Linked DNA regions of Homo sapiens: region 2 is linked to region 1. Evidence: promoter capture Hi-C in human tissues and cell types (Jung and others, 2019). All regions are on one chromosome and are shown on one strand. The core of a region is centred on a gene start or on the middle of the fragment in contact, and the rest is flanking DNA. Distances in the headings are between cores, read along the strand shown.

What was found. The method cuts DNA at HindIII sites, captures the fragments that hold promoters and counts their contacts. A contact is called where the count stands out against the background at its distance.
Region 2: a contact is called between a fragment that was not itself captured here and the fragment with the promoter of SETD1B in region 1, in 1 of the 25 tissues and cell types used here (dorsolateral prefrontal cortex).

What each region holds. Positions count from the first base shown.
Region 1 is chr12:121,801,905-121,805,258 of GRCh38, reverse strand. SETD1B (SET domain containing 1B, histone lysine methyltransferase) reads right to left here and starts at 1,250. Exons shown (of 17, transcript NM_001353345.2): 1 at 1,026-1,250; 2 at 348-535; 3 at 43-141. The coding sequence starts at 521. LINC01089 (long intergenic non-protein coding RNA 1089) reads left to right here and starts at 2,313. Exons shown (of 4, transcript NR_152740.1): 1 at 2,313-2,628. RefSeq lists silencers at 956-1,015, 1,056-1,185, 1,456-1,705. The HindIII fragment of the contact is 28,947 bases long and covers 1-3,354 here.
Region 2 is chr12:121,211,381-121,217,239 of GRCh38, reverse strand. P2RX4 (purinergic receptor P2X 4) reads right to left here. Exons shown (of 12, transcript NM_002560.3): 2 at 1-106. Among named protein-coding and RNA genes, the nearest start is that of P2RX4, 4.2 kb to the right of the region's middle. The HindIII fragment of the contact is 3,874 bases long and covers 596-4,469 here.

The DNA of each region.
Region 1 (3,354 bases), core at 1-2,500:
GAGGTGGGGGAGGGACGGCGGGGCAGTGGGGAGGGGTCCTACCTTGAATTTGGGCACCGACAGCTCCAGCTCCTTGTTTTTGGTCCAGATCCCGACGACCCGGGGATCTTCGACAATTTCCACCGGGCGGTTGCTGGACATCTGTGGGGAGAAATTGGGGGGCCGGGATGAGAGAACTGGTCCCCCTCCCCATGGGCAGACCCCTTTCTCGAGGCACTTGTCAAACTCCAGGGCTGGGGCCCCGTCTGACAGTTGGCCGGGGGATCGGGCGGGGGGTCCCTGGCCGCTAGGCGCGTCTCCCCGGACACGACGCGGGGCACGGCTGGGGGGGCGCGCCGGCTACTCACCGCCAGGCTGAAATGCTGCCCATCGTAGCGGTACAGTTTATGATGCCCCTTTTTCAGAGCCGGGTCAATCATCAACTTGTAACTTCTCCAATGGTGGTTCCTCCTCTCGCCCGAAGGGCCGGGCTGCGGCGGGGGCTGCTGGTGGTGGTGGTGGGGGGGGTGACTGTTCTCCATGCCGTTAACCCAACCTGAAAACCAGCAAGTTGTTGTCGTCTCCGCCGCGGCGGCGGCGGCGGCCGCTTCTACACACACGCGAAAGAATCCAATCGGCAGGCCCCCACCCCCTCCCACCTTGCCAGCGCGCCCCGAAAGGAGCTGTCTCGCTGGCTCCCCCCAAAACAAGAATGGAGCGAGAGAATAACCCTTCCGGGAGAATTACGCGCCCGCCCGCTCGGCCACCGTCTCGGGGCGGCAGCGAGGGGCTCCCGGGGGTCCCCTGGGCGGGCTGGCGGGGCCCGGGGCGCCCGGAGGACGCGGACTCCGGCCCATGGTGCCCGCCCGGCCGCCCGGCGTGGCGCTCACCCGCTAGCTCGGCCCGGCTCTGGCGCGAGGCTGGCGGCAGGGCCTGGCGGCGCCGCCGCCCGCCCGCCCGCTCGCCCGCTCGGGCCAGGGCCGGGGCCGGGGGCTTGGGCCGCCCGGCTGCCGGCCGCGGCCTCTCCCTCCCCGAGCCGCGCTTACATCCCCGCCGGGCGCCGGCCTCCCTGCGCCGCCAGCCAGTACATGGTGTCCCCCGAGGGAGCCGAGGCCGGGGCGGCCGGACCGGGGGCCAGGAAGGGGGGGCGCCGCCGCCGCGGCTGCCGGGCCCGGAGCTGCTGCCGCTGCCGCCGCCGCTGCTGCTGCTGCTGCCCGGGAGGCGGCTGGCGGCGGAGGCTCGGCTCCCAGTAGCCGCACATCCCACAATACACCGCTAAGGAGCCCGACCCGAGCGCTCACCCTCCTCCTCTTCCTCCTCCTCCTCCTCTTCCTCCTCCCCTCTCCTTCCTCGCCGCTTCCCCAGGCACTCTCCCGGCGGCGGCAGCTGCGCCGCCAAAGCCCCGGGCCCCAGCGGCCCCCCACCCCTCACTCGCGCGCTCCCACACTGCCTCCCCCTCCCCGGGGGAAGGCCTTTTAATTTATTTATTTTTCTGGGACTGGGGTGGGGGTCTTGGCTGGCGGGGGAGGGGGTCTCCCCGGGCTCTACCTCCCGCGGCCGGGACTACCCTCAGAGCCGCGACCGCCGCGGCGTGCGTCCCGGGCCTGCAAAACTGTTTCCAAACTGCCCGGGCCGGAGGCGGGCGCGCGGGGCCCGGGGAGATGGCTGGGGTCTGGGGGGCCGAGGGTGTGTGTGGACGCTGGGAGCCGCGGGGGGAGGCCGGCGTCGACTCAGAGGAGTTGCAATCGAGGTATCTGCGCTCCGGCTTCCTCCTGCGGCCCGCGACCCCCTCCCCGGAGCTGAGCTGGGGAAGGGAGACCAGGGTTCACCACGTTAGCATTCGCATTCCTGGGAGGATGCAGCCCTCGCCTGGACCTGGGCGATAGACGCCTTCTTCTGTTTTTATTTTTGGAGGGGAGCGCCCTGTAATTGTCCTGAACACATGCTTCCCCCCCTTCCTCCAGCCACCCGCGGAGGAGAGAGTCCCCCTTTTTTGCATTTATCTTTTCCTTCCCCTTTCTTTATTAAAGGTCCGGGAGTGGCGGCGGCCAATCAGCGCGCGGCTTCCATTTTGTGAGTTCAACTCCGAGGCTCCCGGGCTTCGCGAGGACGCGTTTGCAGCCCCCTCTGCCGCTCCTCTCTGGCGGCCGAGGCGCAGGAGCCGCCTCGCCGGGGCTCGGAGCTGGTGTAGCTCATATTGGGGCTCTTTTCGGGGTTTGTAATTTGGCCGTGGGTAGGTAATTGGCTGGAGCAGGGCGGCAGGGCGCGGCAGCCAATCAGCGCGCGGCTTCTATAGGGCTTGAGTTATTAGACGCTGATCTCAAAACATCCTTCATCAGACACGAAGGAGAGGCCAACAGATGAGGGAAGCCATTTTTCTGCAATGGAATTAAATGGCCAAGTGGGTTTTTCCTTTGTTGCAAATGGGGAATGTTTTTCCTTTGACTCTACCATCCAGTTCAGGACGTCTCAGTGTGTTTAACATTTGTCAACAGGCCCAAGGACTCACAGTTGGAAGACTGGAGAAGACTTTTTAAAAAGATCTGGATTTTTCCTTATGACTTGGAATCCATCTTTGTCTTGTATAACTAGGTCATAGCACACCATTCATGTCAGCAGTTAACAGTTTTGAATTCCAAAAAAACCTAAGTAAATGACATATTTTTTTTCCTCTTTTTGTTCTATGGGTGGGTGGGGGGAGCTTGGAGCTGTCTTAATCTGTATTCTCTTGACTGAACAATAAATTTTTAAATATATCTAGTTTCCTCTATTAAACACTTAAACCTGGCCATCTTATTAACTCCTTCTCTCTTTTTAACAAGGTAATGTTTTAAATGTATATAGCTTTAGGACTAGCGAAATGGCAGCAACAAAAAATTGTGAGCAGTTGTTACTCTTTTAGTTTTTAAAAAACCTTTTACATTGTAAGTACCCAATCCATTCTGTCCTGACGCAGTACAGTTTTGATGTTAATGTTGCTGAGATGTCCTTAATTTTCCGAACCTTCATCTGCATGTATGTCTTTGTCTCTCTTGTCTAATATAAGCCAGTTAAGATGCTTGAGACGATCTTGCTTTATAAAGCTAAGGTTCTAGCTTTATGCTTTTGAAAATGTTTACAGCACTAAATGCTAGTCAGCTTTCTTCCCCGTAGCTTGTACACTTTCTTTGAAAATCGATCTATTTGAAGAAAAACAGCCCTGTTTTTCTCGTCTTTGGTGTTGGGGGTTGGGGGGAGCTGGTGGGTGAGGGAAAGGAAGACCTTTTCTTTGTGTAGAGAGACTAAAGCCGTCACAGGAAACTAGATTAAAACTGGAAAACAAGTCCTAGCTGGTTCCAGCAAACACCAACGTTAAGTGGGGGGTATTTTCTATGG
Region 2 (5,859 bases), core at 1,283-3,782, 590 kb after region 1:
TCCAAGTTTAGAAGTGTTGGTCACAGCCACGCCCTTGACCTTGGTCGTAACGGAGCTGACCACGGAGTCAGTTTCCTGGTAGCCCTTTTCCCACACAAACACCCACCTATAAAATAAAACAGGCCTCTTAAATTGCCATTAGGATTCAATGGATTTGAATTGATGGGGAAGCTTCTGCTGGCCAGTGGCTGGAAGTACGATGTTGACTAATTACATGACTTTCTACAAGCTACGTACCTTCTAGGGGACTCCATTTCCACTTCTGCCAAATGGGGATGGTAGCACCTAAACCACAGGAGGGTTTGCGGGAAATAAATGAGATGGTGCAGGTAAAGCACTCAGCACACTGATGGCACAGAGAAAACGCTCGATGAATACTGTCTTTATTACATTTGAGCATTTTCTCTTTTTTTTTTTTTGAGACGATGTTTCGCTCTTGTTGCCTAAGCTGGAGTGCAATGGTGTGATCTTGGCTCACTGCAACCTCCGCCTCCCGGGTTCAGGCAATTCTCCTGCCTCAGCTTCCCAAGTAGCTGGGATTACAGGCATGCGCCAACACGCCTGGCTAATTTTGTATTTTTAGTAGAGACGGGGTTTCACCATGTTGGCCAGGCTGGTCTCGAACTCCTGACCTCAGGTGATCCACCCACCTCGACCTCCCAAAGTGCTGGGATTACAGGCGTGAGCCACTGCACCTGGCCCTTTGAGCACTTTCAATGCCTGTGACCTATGGGAATCACCAAGAGATAATACAAATTATAACAGTTACCACTGGAGTGTTTATAGGCACCAGGCACTGATCTAAGCTCTTTATATGTATTAACTCATTTAATCCTGACCACTTTATGAGACAGGTATCATTATTATTATTTCCATTTTACAGAGGAGGAAATGGAAACACAGAGAGGTTAAGTCACTTGCCAAAGGTCACACAGCTAGTGAGTGGCAGAGTCAGGATTTGAACTCAAGCCAGAAGCATCTGAAGCCTCTTCTCTCACCCACTATGCTCTACTCTAAGCTTGTCTAACCCATAGCACACAGGCCGCATGCGGCCCAGGATGGCTTTGAATGAGGCCCAACACAAATTCGTAAACTTTCTTAAAACGTTATGAGATTTTTTTTTGTGTGATCAAAAAAAGTTTGTTTTTTAGCTCATCAGCTATTGTTAGTGTTAGCATATTTAATGTGTGGCCCAAGATAATTTCTCCTTCCAGTGTGGCCCACGAAAGCCAAAAGATTGGACAACCCTAGGCTACTCTTTCTAGAAAAGAGAATTCTACCCTTTAAGGAACTTTTAAGAGTAGTTTCTTACTTTTCCCCCAAGAATTCTGGTCACATATATGGTTCTCTCCTCTGAAGTGGGACTATGACTACCAGTTTGAACAATTAAAAATCCAAAGGGGCTGGGTACAGTGGCTCACGCCTGTAATCCCAGAACTTTGGGAGGTCAAGGGGGGAAGATCATTTGTGCCCAAGAGCTCGAGACAAGCCTGGGCAACATAGGGATCTCTACAAAAAATAAAAAATTAGCCGGGCATGGTCAGTTTTGATTATAGCAAGATGGACAAAAGCAAAGCATTTACTGCTTTAAAGATTCTCGTGACTGAGACAGTGAATACGTCATAAGGAATCCTACAGAGCTGTGCTGTCCAATAAAAATCCCGGCTATTTGGGAGGCTGAGGTGGGAGGATCACTTGAGCCTGGGAGACGGAGGCTGCAGTGAGCTGTGATGCCACCGCACTCCAGCCTGGGCGACAGGGCAAGGCTCTGTCTCAAAAAAAAAAAAAAAAAAAAAACCATCTACAGGCATTAGCTTATAGGGGTTAGGACAGACTGGAGGCAGAGGTCTTGGTTCATGGCTCAGCTCCACCATTCACGAGGCATAACTTTGGCCAAGGTGCTTAACCTCATTGTGCCTCAGTTTTTCCCATCTATAATCTGGGAATGATAGTAGATCTTCACAGGATTCTTGTGAGGGTAAAAGAATTAATGTAGGTCAAATGTTTACAACAATGTTTGTGAGTCATCGTTGGTCACAGAGCAAGTACTGACACCGTGGAAATTGGCCAGTACTACAAATCAGAACCCCTCCCCTTCGAACTGCTGTTAAACATCTACTAGAGACTATCAGTGTTGTTATTTATAGAATCAGGAAATGCTAGGCTTCTCCTTCTTCTAAGTCCTAGATGCTGAGACTTCAGAAATTCACTGGTTTTGTTGAGGTCAGGAGTCCAAGACCAGCCTGGCCAACATTGTGAAACCCCGACTCTACTAAAAATACACAAAATTAGCTGGGTGTGGTGGTGGGTGCCTGTAGTCCCACATACTCGGGAGGCTGAGGCAGGAGAATCACTTGAACCCGGGAGGTGGAGATTGCAGTGGGCTGAGATCATGCCACTGCACTCCAGCCTGGGCAAGAGTGAGACTCTGTCCCTCCACCAAAAAAAAGAAAAGAAATTAATGGTTTTGTTACTTATGAGTGTGTGTGATCGAGCAGTCTCCAAGTTCATTGCCCAGCCTAGAGATGGGCTTTCCCCCCATGGGCTTTTCCCCTGACAAGTCCAGGGCTTCTAGGAATTCAGCTGCAGTGTAAGCTTCCATTTAATTCCAGTCTGACACACAAAAGCTTGGGGCAGGAAGACTGATGTACTCATCAAGTACAGTGAGTTGCTTAATTTAGAGACACAGGGTTTCATGCCACTCATTATCATGTGATTATTTCCTCCTCATATGATTGTTAACAGAGTTAGATAGATGAGAATTGCGTGTTCGGTCTTTTTTTGAGGGAGGGTTGCTGTAGGAGGAGACCACAATTTCACTAAGATGAGTTGCATCAAAAAGTTAAGAGATGAGGTTAAAAAAAAAAAGAGCCTTAATGCAGGTCCTGAGTCAGTTTTGATTATAGCAAGACGGACAAAAGCAAAGCATTTACTGCTTTAAAGATTCTCATGACCGAGATAGTGAATGCGTCATAAGGAATCCTACAGAGCTGCGCTGTCCCATAAAAACATAACGCGAGCCACATATTTTTTTTTTTGAGACAGGCTCTCGCTCTGTCGCCCAGGCTGAAGTGCAGTGGCACAATCTTGGCTCACTGCAACCTCCGCCTCCCAGGCTACAGCAATCCTCCCACCTCAGCCTCCCAAGTAGCTGGGTCCACAGGTGTGCGCCACTATGCCAAGCTAATTTTTCGTATTTTTGGTAGAGATGGGGTTTCACTACGTTGCCCAGGCTGGTCTCAAAATTCCTAAGCTCAAGGGATCCACTTGCCTCAGCCTCCCAAAGTATTGGGATTACAGGCGTGAGCTACCACAGGGCAAGACCCTGTAATTTAAAAGTTTCTAGTAGCCATGTCAAAAAGTAAAAAGAAATAGAAAGGGCTGGGCACGGTGGCTCATGCCTGTAATCCCAGCACTTTGGGAGGCCGAGGCAGACAGATTGCTAGAGCTCAGGAGTTCGAGACCAGCCTGGGCAACATGGAAACCTCATGATTGTAGAGATGAGATTTCTCATCTGTACAAACAAACAAACAAAAACACAATAATTAGCCAGTCATGGTGGTGTGCACCTGTAGTCCCATAATTCCAGAGGCTGAGATGGTAGAATCACTTGAGCCTGGGAGGCAGAGGTTGCAGTGCATTGCACTCCAGTCTGGGTGACAAAGCAAGGCGCCGTTTAAAAAGAAAAAAAGAAAAAAGAGACAGGAAAAATTAATTGTAATGATATATTCTGTGTAACCCAATATATCCAAAATATTTTAACATGTCATCAATAAAAAATGTTTTCATGTGATAGTGGTACTCTTTGTTTTTTTGAGACAGTGTCTTGCTCTGTTGCCCAGGCTGGAGGGTGGTGTGATCACAGCTCTCTGTGGCCTCAACCTCCCAGGTTCAAGCAGTCCTTCTGCCTCAACCTCCCAAATAGGTAGGCCTATAGGCGTGTGCCACCATGCCAGGCTAATTTTTGTATTTTTTTGTAGAGGCAAGGTCTCGCTATGTTGCCCAGGTTTGTCTCAAACTCTTGAGCTCAAGCGATCTTCCCACCTCAGCCTCCCAAAGTACTGTGATTTCAGGCATGAGCCACTGTGCCCAGCCTCTTTTTCTGTACTATGTCTTTGAAATCCAGTGTGTATTTTAAGGTTATAGCACATCTCAGTGTAGAGTAGGAACGGTTAAGTGTTCAACAGGTGCAAGTTACTAGTGGCTACCATACAGTGCAACACCACTATGGATATTTTCCGCAGTTGTAATTTTACAGGTACCCTAAGGTAGATGTGCACTGATCCTCCCACTAGCAGCAAACGCCAAAAGCAAAAAGCTGCAGGGGAGCTCCTGCCCCCAAATGCTTCAGGTCCAACCAGGGATGTGAGTTCAGTTAACTGGCTAGCAGTGAGTCTCCAAAAAAAAAAAAAAAATATATATATATATATATATATATATATATATATTTGAGATGGAGTTTTGCTCTTGTTGCCCAGGCTGGAGTGCAGTGGCGCAATCTGGGCTCACTGCAACCTCCGCCTCCTGGATTCAAACGATTCTCCTGCCTCAGCCTCCCATGTAGCCGGGATTACAGGCATTAGCCACTAGGCCTGGCTAATTTTTTGTACTTTTAGTAGAGACGGGGTTTTACCATGTTGGCCAGGCTGGTCTCGAACTCCTGACCTCAGGTGATCCACCCGCCTCGGCCTCCCAAAGTGCTGAGATTATAGGCATGAGCCACCGTGTTCAGAAAAAAAAAAAAAAAAAATTCTTTTTTTTGCACTGCTCCATCAGTACAATTTACCATTTTAAACTTTATTTTTCTCTTAGAGATGGGGTCTCGCTATGTTGTCCAGGCTGGTCTTGTGTCCAGGCTGGTCTTGAGCTCCTGGCCTCAAGCAATCCTCCCACCTTGGCTTCCCAAAGCACTGGGACTACAGGTGTGAGCCAATGAGTCCAAATCTGGGTGTGGGCCAGGTGGTTCTGATGTTGAGTCTGCACCTGGAAAGCCATCCTCTTGAATACTGTCTGTATCTACTGCTGCTGCTGACAGATATTGGAAGCCAAACCTGCTTGGGCTTCCCTTGGGCAGTGTTAAGATTCCAAACCTCACCCCAAAGACGGGGGGATCTGTTACTTTTAAACAATTCCTCAGATGAGTCTTCCATGATCAGGTAAACTTGGGAAACACAGTTCATTGGTTCCGAAACGTTGCTGAACATGAGAATCACCTGGGCAGCCGATCATACTCTGCAGCAATTAAATCAGAAGGTCTGGGGATGCGTCTGGGCGCGGTGGCTCACGCCTGTAATCCCAGCACTCTGGGAGGCTGCGGCGGGTGGATCACCTGAGGCCAGGAGTTCGAGACCAGCCTGGCCAACATGGCGAAACCCTGTCCCTACTAAAAATACAAAAATTAGCCGGGCATGGTGGTGGGTGCCTGTAATCCCAGCTACTCAGGAGGCTGAGGCAGGAGAATCGCTTGAACCAGGGAGGTGGAGGTTGCAGCGAGCCAAGATTGCACCACTGCACTCCAGCCTGGGCGACAGAGGGAGACTCCATCAAAAAAATAAAAAAGGGTCTGGGGATGGGAGCCAAAGATTTCCAGATGGTTCCAATGTGCAGTTTGGAGACCACTGCACTAGGCAATACGTGTCAGCCCAGCAGCTGTAGACACCAGAACACCCCAGGTAAGCCTTTAAAGTGGCCCCAGGTGGCAAGGTAATTATCATCTTCTCTCTCGCGTTGTATTCAATTGTAACAGGTGCCAGCCCCGCGTGGGGGCTCACGCCTGTAATCCCAGCATTTTGGGAGGCTGAGGTGGGCGGATCACCTGAGGTCAGTTCAGGACCAGCCTGAAACCCCGTCTCTACTAAA